Regions from separate parts of the Homo sapiens genome. Here region 2 is linked to region 1. The links are contacts of gene promoters, found by promoter capture Hi-C in blood cells and fetal thymus (Javierre and others, 2016). All regions are on one chromosome and are shown on one strand. Each heading gives the region's core, a stretch centred on a gene start or on the middle of the fragment in contact. The rest is flanking DNA. Distances are from core to core; before and after follow the strand shown.

What was found. Contacts are between HindIII fragments. The CHiCAGO score rates a contact against its expected background, and 5 or more counts as called.
Region 2: a contact is called between a fragment that was not itself captured here and the fragment with the promoter of NTNG1 in region 1, in 1 of 17 cell types (naive B cells). The highest score is 5.6, in naive B cells.

Annotation. Positions count from the first base shown.
Region 1 is chr1:107,138,228-107,144,832 of GRCh38, forward strand. NTNG1 (netrin G1) reads left to right here and starts at 2,812. Exons shown (of 8, transcript NM_001113226.3): 1 at 2,812-2,913. RefSeq lists an enhancer at 2,452-2,983 and silencers at 2,917-3,206, 3,227-3,506. The HindIII fragment of the contact is 6,022 bases long and covers 1-4,512 here.
Region 2 is chr1:107,526,797-107,532,942 of GRCh38, forward strand. No RefSeq gene overlaps it. Among named protein-coding and RNA genes, the nearest start is that of MIR7852, 370 kb to the right of the region's middle. The HindIII fragment of the contact is 1,614 bases long and covers 465-2,078 here.

The sequences.
Region 1 (6,605 bases), core at 1,562-4,061:
TCTGATTTACTTCCTTGAGTTTAGATCCACATGTTTAGTTGGTGATTCACTGAGCTTCTGCAAAGGTCAGAGCACATGTTCCACAGAAAAACTCACCTCTGAAAGACTCTCCCACTCCTGTAGTGGGAGGTGTTACCTAACTGGAGAGGTTCCCATTTACATATCACACTTACTTGGGATTGCCTCATAGTCAAAGGAATCCTGGGAATGAGGGATGATACAGGAAGAGAGGAAGGGAGGTCAGTTCCAAGATTTTGACAGATGAAAACAAGTATTTTTCCAGGTTGGGAGCCAAAATCACAAAGATCTTGGTATATTCCAGAAGAGAGTTCTCTAATCTCTGCATAGATTTATTTTATTTTTACTACAGAAGGGCCTTAAATGACCAGATAAAGCAGAGGATGAGAGTTCAGAAAGGCTTTCTTGGCTTGAGAGAGAAGGGCAAGAGAGAGGAAAGGCTGAGAACTGTCTGTATTTCAGGATCTAGGCCAAGGGGCCAACGAGAAATAAGAAGGCCACTCTTGGTATTGTTTATTATATCCTATTGCAAAGGGCTCCCATAGAAAGAACTGGGATCTAAGGGCCTGTGAAGGAGGATTAGGTGGTGAGTAACATCTCCATATAGTCAGTATGTTTTAAACCTGGAGGAGCATGGCTAGAGACAGGGGGAAGAGCCAGACTTGGCCACTGTCTAAGAACCCTTGGTAGGAGTTTCAGCCCTGCAGGTAACTCTTTTTTGCAATGTCAGCACTACAGGACAAAGGTGGGAAAGAGGAAAGCACATGAATCCCAGATTCCTGCACTCAGAGATTCCGAAGGCGACTTATTGTGGCCTCTTAGGTGTTAGAGGGAAGGCTGGGGGTGCCTGAAATCCCTGCCCACTTCCTGGCTGCCCAGGGCCAAGGAGGGCCTGGTTATAGGCCCAACTCAACAAACTTCTCCCCCATCCATCCTTTTACCACACCACCCCCAGTCATCACAGAAAAATGACCCAATTACTCAGCCTCCTGCCTTAATTGTGGGACACATAGTGACTAAGTGTTCACAATTGCCCATTTCTTCCACCCCCCCCCCACCCGCCACTTTGCCTTGACCAAACATGAGTCAGGCTTCTCTCCAGCAGGTCCCTGGAATTTAGCTTGCCCCCCAAATCTGAGCAAGAACTAAAATGTGAAACATTCACCATTGTTAGCTTATCTTCCAAATTCTTGGACCACAGAGACACATTTCTTGTTCAACCAAGAGGGTCTTGAAGTGAGTTGTTTCCCCCATCCACTTGGCTTTGCCTATTGCTTGCTCCCCCTTATATATATAGAAAAAAAAGGCCGATTTCTGTTTGGTTTTGAGAGGTTTGCAGATTTCTGAGATCAGAGCGTTTTCCCTGTTGCAATAGTCTTTCTTTCTAATGGAAGTCTCCCTATCTTATCTAAATTCGGATTTGTTTCTGTTTGACGTTAATGTGTAGCTAAGAGTGATCCCAGGTGAGTCTGAGCCCGCCTTGGTGGGGAATGAAGCCTGGAGCATCGGAGCATTTGTCTTTCTCTTAGAAAAGGCAAGGAAGCCTGAAATGCGCAGCTCTCCCTTGAACTTCAACTTTTTAAAGGGGAATGAATTTCTAAAGGAGGAGTTTCCAGTCTAGGGCTGTAGGGGCCTCCGGGCAAAGGAAGTGCTTGTTGAAAAACAACATTGTGATCACTTCCAGCGGCGAAGGGTGTGCTTGGGAACGGTTTGGGGAGGGGACAGAAGAGAGAGGGGTGGGATGGACGGCGGCAGAAGTGGGAGGTACACGAGGAGTTACTGGAAACGGCGCTTCTGTGGAGGAGCCGGGGGGGATGGGGAGTAGAGGGAGGGGGCCCTGTTGCCTCAGCGCCCCGAGGTCGTGGAGCGGCAGCAGCTGCAGCCGGAGCAGCACCAGCAACAGCAACAGCGAGCGGGACGGAGTTAGGACCGCTCGGAGCGCACAGGTCTCGAGGTAGTATAAGGTTTGCTATCCTTCCACTTGCTGGCAGTTGCAGAAGAAGATCTGCTTTTTAAGTGAAACGTACATGCCACCCCTCCGAGGGCTGCGGCTTCCCCGGGCTTGCTTCTTTGCCGCTCCTCTTTCCGGCTCTCGCGCTCACTCTTTAATTGGCACTGGCCCCTAAGTTTGCCAGGAGCTCGCTGCCCGCTCGGAGCAGGGTCCCGGCCGGGAGCCGCTGGTGGGGGCGGGGAGTCCGGGAGCCGCAATCCAGAAGCGTCGTGGGCCATGTATATTTCATCAAACGGACTTTGGGTGCGTCGCGTCTCACTGCCATCAGTGCTATGTGCAGTGACATTTCTGACTTGAGTGGAGGAATGCGCGAAGGAAACCCGGGCGAAATTGGTATTAGAGGATCTTCTTGGCGCCAATGCTAATTGTCCTGATTTATGCCCCTTCTGACTAAGCTCAACGTCTTCATCTGAAATAAAATGAAAGCGGTGCCAAGCGGCATAGAACCGCCTGGCCGCTGGTTCTGATCCCCGGGAACCAGAAAATCGTCCTGCGGCTTGAAAAAAAAAAAAAGAGGAAAAAAAAAAGAAATAGAAATAGAAAAAAGAAAAAATATCCCTCAGTAAAAGTTTAAGGCGAGAAGTGTCAGAGGCAGCGGAGCGAGGAGGCGCGGAGGAGAGCCGGCGAGCAGGGGACTGGGCTGGCACGACCTCCGAAGGCTGAGATCTCATTATTAATATCACTATATTTTTGGAGGGAGAGGCACCTTTCTCATCCTCTCTTCCTCTCCGCCCACCCTTACTCCCTCCCCCTCATCTACCTGTCAAAGTCACTGATCTTTTGCATTTCGGAAGAGGACGTCAACGGGAAGGAATTCCCCCTCTGGGTGCGGGCTCCGAGAGGGGGCGACTTGCAGGAGGCTCCCCCCGGGGGCGGAGGCGAAGGTAATTAAGCGGCGGGGAGTGGCGGGCCGGCGCTGGGTTCTCGGTCCTCGGGGTCCTCTCCCGCCGGCGGCCGGGCGCGATCGGAATCCCCGGGCTGCGGCGGTGGCGGCGGCTCGGGTCCTCACGCCCACCCCTCCCGCTCCGCCCGCTCCCGCCTGGGGAGGAGGCTCCGCGGGAGCTGCCGCCCTCCGCCCGTACGCCGCCCGCGGGCTCCGCTGCTGCGGCCGCCGCCCGAGGCGGACCAGGCTGGCTGCGCAGGGCCGCCGCCCCGCGCCGTCGGCTCGGCTCCCGCCCGGCGCAAGGGCAAACGAGCCACACGGTAAGTGCCTGCGGCTCGCCTCTCCTACTGCGACCCGAGCCTCTCGCCCGTGCCCCTCTCCCCCGGGTTTCCCCACCCCCCGCCGCCCCCCGCCCCACCCGCTGCGATGCACAGGCGGGAGGGAAGGCTCCGGGTGGGCGAGGAACTTTGTAAAGCGCCCCGAGGAGGCAGCGCGCGGAGCCCTACGCGCACACACAGCGGCACACGCTCACACCCACACACAAGTCTTCCCGGGGGTGCGCCCCGGGCCGGTGATGCGTCCTCTTGTTGTGTCCGGAGCCCAGGCGTGGGGTCTGAGCCTCCATCCGCCGACTGACAGGGGCCCCGCGCTCTCCCTCTCTCACGCACACCTGGCCACACACATCGCTCAGGCGGCTTGTCGTTATTTTTTCTTTCTTTCGCCAATTATATTTGTTTGGGGAAAAGCAAACAAAAAAAACAAAAAAACACTTGCCCTATTGCCGGCCTTGGGGATCTGGTGGCCACATCGAGAGCTTTTGAAGTCCCTTCTTTTAATCGCCTTTATTGGTGCTAGATTAAAACATTACTATCCCATGTTGTGCAGCTGGGGAGAAAGGGAAATTGAAAGAGGAAGACTTGGTGTAGGGATGCTGTTTGGAATATTCTCTCATATTCTTTACTGGCATCATATTAATCGGTTGATGGATTCGGCTAGGGACACTGAATTGCACTCCTGTATGGATCTGTGGATATCTATATATAATACAAATAATACTGAATATTATTGGGCCTAAAATAACCAATTAAGTGATTCATACAAGGAAAAACTTAGATATAAAAAGAAACTGCGCCCTCTGCTGTTAATTTTAGTACCCTCACCCGGGGACTTTTTTTTTTTTTCCTTCAGAAATCCACTTAAGAGTAGGCTGTCATCTTACAGGGCAAGGGAAGAAAATTCCTAGCGGGGATTTTAAAGCAACTTTACTTGGAAAAGTCGCAGGTTGAGCTCCTATAGTTGCATCAGGTACAGATTTCCAGTGAGTAGACGGTCCTCCTCTCTCACCCATTCTTCTCTTTATACAGGGAATAATGGAGCCACTCCTCATAACAAATTGTCAATCTTTGGAATGGAAAATTCTGAGTAAGATTCAGAACTCCACTAAACATATGGTGAATCTGGCAGTAGAATTGCTCTAGAAATAAGGCCCTGTTTTATGACTGAAAATACTAAAAGTTGTTTTATCTTACAGAAATGAAAAAAAAAAAAACCCAGGAAGATCTTCCATTAAAATCACTTATTCAGATATGCTTAGTAGTTAAGCTTGTTGGAAAGTTTTCCAAAAAATAATTTTTTTTTTTTTCAGGGGAGGCTTTTCTGTTTTGTTTGTCCCTTGAGGAGGATCTCTAGTGAGGGAATTAGCAATTCCACATTTCATTAAGTATTTTGAACTGTGTCACTTTGAATGCCTTACCCGCCTCCCTTTCTCTTTGGCAAAGGAAAAGCAGCTCAGTAACTGTCCAAGATTCTTTTTGAAGATAAGCAACTTTCGATTTTTCATTAAGATAAAATTTGGATCTCTGCATGTGGATCAACATGCAAGGAAAAATGTGCATCAAGTATTTCACATGTAATGTTGTTCCAGGGATATATTTTCTTTTCTGGATGCCGTGAAATGAGATATATTTCACCCACTGAAGACCACCATGAAGGCATTCAGGATTCTATATACTGCACTACTAATTTGGTGGTATTTCCTTACTGTGGAATTTAAGACGGATAATCTTAAAACTTTTGCATGGAAACAGTTTATTTGAACATAAAGCTGGTTTCCTGTTAATATTTTTGTTTTGTCAGTTTTCAATGGGTATATGTGTTAAAATGATTCAGGTTAGCCTTTTTAGGAGGAGGCAAATGTATTTTGCAGTTTCCTTTTGTATATTTGCAAGTGGTGCAAATACCTATTTTTGCTTCCATTATTATTCTGAAAAATATTCAGGTAATTTGTTTAAAAAGTTAAACCATTACACATTTATTTGATAGGATTTCTAAGTGTCATAAAAATTTGGAGAGTTTTAGTTACAAAGGCATCAAGTCACTTGGAAAAAAGAAAATTGGATTCAACTTTGAAAACCAATTATATGTTAACATTGAAATATATGTGTGTGAATTATATTGTATAGGAGATTATATTAGTAAAGTCTTAGGTTAGTATGAGATTTAGCATACTTTAAAAAATAATTTTATTTGCAGAATCCAAAGTTCTGTTTCAAAACTTCAGGTAGGTGTAGATTTTCTCATATATGCGTTTGAGACCTTAGATCTCTGAACTTCCCTGCATGAGAATTAAATATTTGTTTTTCATGTGGTAATTAAATTCCAGATTTCTTCTAGGCTTAACTGATTCTGAAATAGTTTTGGGTATTATCCCATCCTCAATCATCCTGCAAAACATGTGCTATCTAATTTCTTGAATCAGTCTTCTCTCAATGAAAATAGAGATCTTTCAATTACCACGGTGTGTTATTTGGGTTTATTAAGAATCTCATGATAGACAGTTGCTCATAATACCCAATCAAGTGTGAGTAAGCTATGCCAATGATGTTGCAGTACATATTAAATTCCTTATATTTTGAGAGACAGTTAACAAAAGGATAGAAGCATATGTTTTCCATTAAGTTGACTAGAAAATGCTTTCTTCAGAACAAATAGCTGCAAAGAGCATTGAATACATGTTAAAATATCTTATGTAATAAATTTCATTATGACTGTTGGAAGCTGCTAATTTTGATAGGTTATAATTTTGTATATCTTTATCTTTTTATATTTTCACTCAATGATCTATATAGTCAATTTTCCTTTTGTTCCTTCCCATTCAGAAACATGCATATTTATAAAATTCTTAATGTGAATGAGGAATGAGTCAATAGTTGTGTATTTCAGGTACCCCTGAAAAGCTGAATATTTATGAAAAAAATAGCTTACTACCACCATTCCCACCTGCTAGTGAGATTATATAATAAAATGAATGCTGAAAACCAGCTAGATTAGGAGATTTACTGATAATGTCTTCCTCTCAGTTGATGAAACTGGCAATTGCTTTTGGAATATAATTGCCTGTAATATTAACCATTATTACTTCCATGTAATATTTTGGGAGGCTTTTTTTTTCTGGTGAAAGAAAGGGCCTGTGAAAATGGCTTCTGCAAAATTAATCCAAGGTGGAAGGGAATTAGCTGCAGAATCCTGGACAAATACATGTTTTGTGTGTGCAAAGGCATTTTATAGCCCATTTTAGTCCTGATCAATAATCTCTATCAACTTGAGGGCCATGACTTAATTTTACCTTTTATTATTGGTTCTGCAAATTTATACACCGGAGGTCTATGGGGTACTCACAACCTATTAATGGGT
Region 2 (6,146 bases), core at 22-2,521, 390 kb after region 1:
CTGTTTCTGTAAATAAGGTTTCATTGGAACATTTGTTTACATATTGTCTAAGCCTGTTTCTGTGCTACAATGATGGAGTTCTGTAGCTATGACAGAATCATGTGGTCTACATTTCCTAAGTATTTACTCTCTAGCCCTTTGGAGAAAACGTTTGCTAGCCCCAGTCAGTCTTTGATCTCTCAGTGTTTGATCTCCTCTGGCTCCTCTCCAGAATAAACCATACTCCCAACAGTTTTCACATTGGGGCAGGGGGGTCTTGGTGCTTATCAGAGTCTCCATGTGTGGTGCTTAATTATAAATACCCCCTAGTATGTGGTTATACTGATGGAAATGCCGAAGTTTCCAAGTTTGGAAATTTCTTCTTAGATTTGTCTAGGACAAGATGCCTGGTAAGTCCAAACAAAGAAGTTAGTGTTCCTGACAGCCACGTTCCCACCTTGGAGATGAATGCATGAAGCTATCGAAGCTTAACACCATTTAATATTCAAATGTATAATTCCCCTTGTTCAGTTCCACACCCCTCAAGCAATCTTCTGATAATTTGACTTCCCATGTAGAGTGCCCCCCAGAGAGCAGGCCAAGTTGACATATGTCTGTCTGCCAGTAGCTTTTCTAATTACAGATGACTAAATTGGTGATCTAGCTAATATATATCAGTCTCTGTGAACTTGGTTTGTGTCCCAATCCCTGAGGGGCAAATGACAGAGACACTCTTAATGTACTGACATATTATTCTGTGTTCCGAACCCACAAGATTGTCTTGAGAATATATGAGAAGTGAACATGGACCCAACTTGTTAAACCATAAAGACCCCACTGTGCTCCCTTAATTTCTAGAATGTGCACATTTGACAAAAGCTGAGGGCAGGGGTCAAAGAAACATTTAGCCTGTTCTCTGTTGAAGAGACTTTGCTAATAATAAAAATACTGTCAGTGTGGTTCATTAACAGTTTTTAATTGAGGTGACCTGTAGAAACTTACCAGCCAGTTTAAGTTCTAGTTCTGGCTTAAATGTCTCTTAAATCTACTTTCCCCATTACCCTTGGCTCTCCTTTCCTGAGAGAAGCCTTCACCTTCTTTCACCTGGACCTAAAACGACAACAGCCTTCAGTCTAATCATTCCAAACGCTTCCTCAACCCTCAGGTGCTAGAGTGACTTACCCTCAAACACAAAGCTCAGCATGCTGGCTTCATTAAAATTTTTTTTAGCAATGTAGCATTCAAACTCCTCCACATCCTGGCCCCACCTTACCAGTCACATGAGCCATGATCCAGCTACACTCCACTGCGTGCAAGTTCCACAACAGACTATTCCCTTCCACGTGCCTCTGCTGTGGCGAGATGCTAGTTGCCCCCGTAACTTGTTTTTCCTGTTTTTTTCATGGGTACAGAACCACCTTATTACAAGCATATTTCCCTGCCCCCCTTGAGGCTAGATGTGGTCATGTCAAAGTCAATGAAATATAAAGAAGTGTGCAATTTCTGCCTTCCTTACTATAATAAAGTAACTTACCCTGGACCACTTCTCCCTATTCTTCACACGGCTGGAAATGGCAAGCCAGCTGATGCTCCAGCAGTGTGAAAAATGCCTAGAGGATGGTGGAGCAACAAGTTGGAAGGACCATGGTCCCTGAATGACCTCATGGAGTAGGGCAGCCCCACCAGACTGCCTACCTTTAGACTATTATATGAGAGGAAAATGGACATCTATCTTTTCAAGTTACTGTACTGCAGATCTCTTTCTCACAGCAGCTTAGCTTTTACTGGAACAGACTTGCCTTCACATATTCTAATTCTTCAGGCTGCCCCATCCCTGTTCACTTGATGAGTTCCAATTTACATTGTTGTGAAGTACCACAATGCCCTCAGGACCAAGCGGAATGAATCCCCCTTTGCCTGTGCGCTCCATAGGACATTTACTTGATTGCATTGCCAGTGCCATACTGCTGTAATACGATTTTTGGCTTGCCGGATCCATGAGCAAGGTAAGCACCATTTTAAAATTTGTCTCTGAATCTCCAGGCCAAAGTCTAGCACATAGTAGGAGATCAGCATGTTTTCAAAGGTAAATAAATAAAAGCTTATCCCCTCACCTAGCTTAGCAGTAAGAAGCATCTGAAGAGTTAAGAAGTAGAACACAGAAAATTAGAAGAAAGAGATAAATGAAAGGGAAGAAACAGTGAGGCATAAGCCATGCCCTCTAGGTCTGCTGCAGCCTCAGCAGCACCCAGCTCTCTGTAGGAACTCAATAACCACAGATCGATTGAGCTCAACCTTTGCTTGTCATTACTGCTTCCTTCTGCCAGACCCCAAGGAAGCTTCTATAGAAAGTCGGTCCAGAGACTAAAAGAATAGTGAGGGGTGGTGTGTCAGATCAGCTGTTAATTAACAAATCATTCAAATCATGGAGTAAACAAATCTACATTAGAAGTATGCACAAGTTTCAGTGTATGGCTTTATTTTATATATTTTGGTTTATAAAATGTCTCATGATTATAGAATAGCTGTTAACTTAAAACCCACTTCTTTATTTCATCAGATTTTCAAACTGAAACTTTTAAAAGTGATTGATTCTCTGACTGATCCCATTTCTTTCCTATAGCCATGTCTATTCATGGTACTTTGGAAACACAGCACATGTTGCTTATGGAAACACACACTAAGATGAGAGCTAGGAAACTCAGTGGCCTTTAATTATTCAGGATTTAATCGTGCAAGCATGTACAATCAATATTTGTTGATCTTAATCTGATTACCTCCTAGTCGTGTTCAGCGTCTCCATCAACAGGATAACAATATGACACATTTCATAGACTTTCCCTAGGTTCTTCCAACAAGCTTATTGGAAGGATTTTAATCAGCTAATGAACTCGTCAATGGTATTTTCAGGAGCCAAGGCACCTTCCTGCACCTATATCCCATGACCATATTTGCCTGACATCTTGTGGCCACAAGGAGCATGACAGTCTATAAACCCAACATCTGTACACAGGGCAAGCAGCGTCTTTGAATGCTAATCCCTGCATCACAGTCAGAGCGAGTATAAAACTGCTTAAGAGATGTGTGACATGTAATTATTTCATCTAATTAAAATGGAAGCTAGGCTTTTCTTTTTATATTTATGAGGCAAGTTGGAACATGTGGGTCAATTCTTCTAAGGAAAGGAATGGGGTCTCTATCTGGGCTGAACATCTGGCTTGTTATCAACTACCTTGGCCACAGAACACTTTTCCTGTGAAAGGCCCACAAAAAACAGAATATGGCTCACTGGACTGAGAGAAGTAAGAGCATCTGTGGTCAGCTCCTCTGAGAGAGAGAGAGAGAGAGGATTTCGAGCTGGGATTGTTGGAACAAAGAACGCAGAATCCTCCGAGTAAAGAGACTGAAAAAAGGTTTCATCTTCAACACCACAATGGTATATTTTGCGTCTCATAAACTTGACTTTTTAGCACTAGAAACATTTTGTTTAAAGCCAAATTTAGGGTGGCATTATATAAATATAGAATAGAACAATAAAGGTGCTTTGATTGAAGCAGGGAGTCTGAGCGCCACTGGTTTAGCTTTTCTCTCCCACCCCCGCCACCACCCCAGACACATCCTCCAAACCCACACCTTTGAGGGCACAGTCTGACAACTGTTGAAAATATGGAAATTGTATTATATGTGAAATCAGAAGTCTTAGCTTTGTATCTCAACTCTACTCTTTAGTACCTGAGCATCATATAACAAGTCATTAACCTTTCTAAACCTCAGGGTTTTCATCTCTAAAGTAGGGAGAATAATATTTACTTCACAGGGTTATTGGGAACATTAAAAGAGGCAGTAAAATGAAGATGCTTTGTAATTGCTAGACAAATGATCACATTGCCATCATCAGACAGTCATAATGGGCAGTCACGCAACCAAGAGGAACGAGCTCCAGACAATGCCCTGCACTGTCTTCCTGCCAGGTTCTCATTCCTCCACGTTCCAGAGGCATTTACTGGAAGTCTTGATTCATGACTATGTCCCTGAGCAGCTTCGGATAGCAAAGACACAATGGAATACTCTGAACACAAGCATATAGGGCCTCTAAACACACATTGGTTCACCATTATTGCCTTGTTGACGAAGCATAGTTTTCCCGTTTCTCTTTTTCCCTGAATCTGTTACCCACCACCCCCCTTCGATTATTACCAAATCAGAAGATCTAGATTCGTGTATCTTTTTTTTATTATTTTTTTACCTGTTCTTTTTATTATTATTATACTTTAAGTTCTAGGGTACATGTGTACAACGTGCAGGTTTGATACATAGGTATACATGTGCCGTGTTGGTTTGCTGCACCCATCAACTCATCATTTACATTAGGTATTTCTCCTAATGCTATCCCTCCCCCAGAGAACATCGTGTACCTTAAAAGGTGTAGCTACTGAAGCCCAGAGAGGTTGTAACTTGTCTCTGAGCCTATAGCGAGTTTGTGACTAAGCTAGACTAGAATCCACTTCTCTTGTCACTCAAATGATCACCCAGCTGCCTGGGCTGCTTGTCTTATAAAGGATGCCAATCTATGTTAATGAAGGGTGGGAGGGGGCTAGTGTTGTACTGAAGAAATCCGATGGAGATAACCAGCAAGACGACTCCAGAATCACTCTTAGAAGCTGGATGACTGCAGGATAAAACAGCAGAGAAATTGAGCATTCACTTCCCTTGGGAATTGAATGAACGGGGAATAGAACATGTTCTGTCCACCAGGAAGAGGATCAGTTTATTTCTAGGTGTTTCTGAGAGATGAGTAATTGTGACTGGGCAGCAGTAGGATACCACCCCTTCAAGCCCATGACTCTGCGCATCCCCAGGCCCATGAGTGTGTGATACCAGATGAGAAGGAGAAGCAGGAGGCCTTGCCACCATGACAGCCAGCTGGGTGTTATCAGTGAGCTAGGACGCAAACTGTCAATCACAGAAGACATGGCTTATCCCACAGCACACCTTTCATACATGAGAATAAATTCTCAAGAAAAAGTGTATCATTTCCGATGGAGAACTTTTACACATAAACTGTCTGATGCGCTCTCCTGACCCAAAAAGAGGAAACGAATAGCACCCAATATCCTACCAAATCCTCCTTCAAGGCTGAAAATTATGTGGTTCTAATGTGCCATTAAAGGTAATTTAAAAGAAAATGGCTGTTTAATTTAGAGATCATTTCTGGCAAGGCTGAGACCTGTCTTCACCAGCATTTGAAGCTATTATATAAACCACCAAAATCAGAACTACAGGCAATCTTGTCTATTCATGGGCCAGGCATGTGTGCCTTTTTCTCTCATGCTCTTTAATATTTGCTATTTCTTTTATTTGAACCCAAAGGAGAAAAATCTCAGTTGCAGAAATAGAACATGAATTCAGTAGAGTGTTTTTTTTTCTTTTCTTTTTCTTTTTTTTTTTTTAAGAGAGAGACTTCAGAGGCAAGATGATAAATGGCTAATAAGAAACAGGGGTGCCTAGGGGCTTGCAAGGAGGGGGCTGACCATGCACGTGAGAATTCAGGATTCAGTGATAGGGAGCTGCTGTTTCAGCCCTCAAAGAAGAAGCTATCGATTCATTTTTAAGGCAAACAAGTTGGATCCTGGGGACTGCTGAAGGTGAAGCAGCAGCTTCTCTGAGCCTGCCACACTGGGTGACCTTTGCATGGGGCCACAGAAAGAACAATGGCAAGGCAACACTCCTAAATTAGTCATCGGTGCTGTTTGATTTGCTCCTGTGCCAGATGTTCCCTCATTGATCACTGCCTGGCCCATATGTCCTCTCTGAACAGGGGAGCGAGTGGAGCCAGCAGCCGCCACTTCAGAAGCAGCCACCAGAGCGGGCTAATGGAGTCCTTGGCAGGAGGTTGCCATCTGATTGGTTTGCCACTGTTTCTCTTAGAGATCAAGGGCATTATACAGGCAGCACACCTGCCCACTCTCAGGGCCAGGCTCCGGGCAGTCAGGCAGCCTCAATTCCTGAAAGGCCCTGGTGAGCTTCCCAGAACCCCTCAGCAGCGTCCCTGGCCCTCTCACTCTTTTCGTCCCTGTCACAAGAAGCCCCTGTGGCATTTGTTAAACAGCCATTGCCATGTTCAAAGTGAGGCTCAACTTGGCCTGCAGTTTTTCTGTTCTTATTGC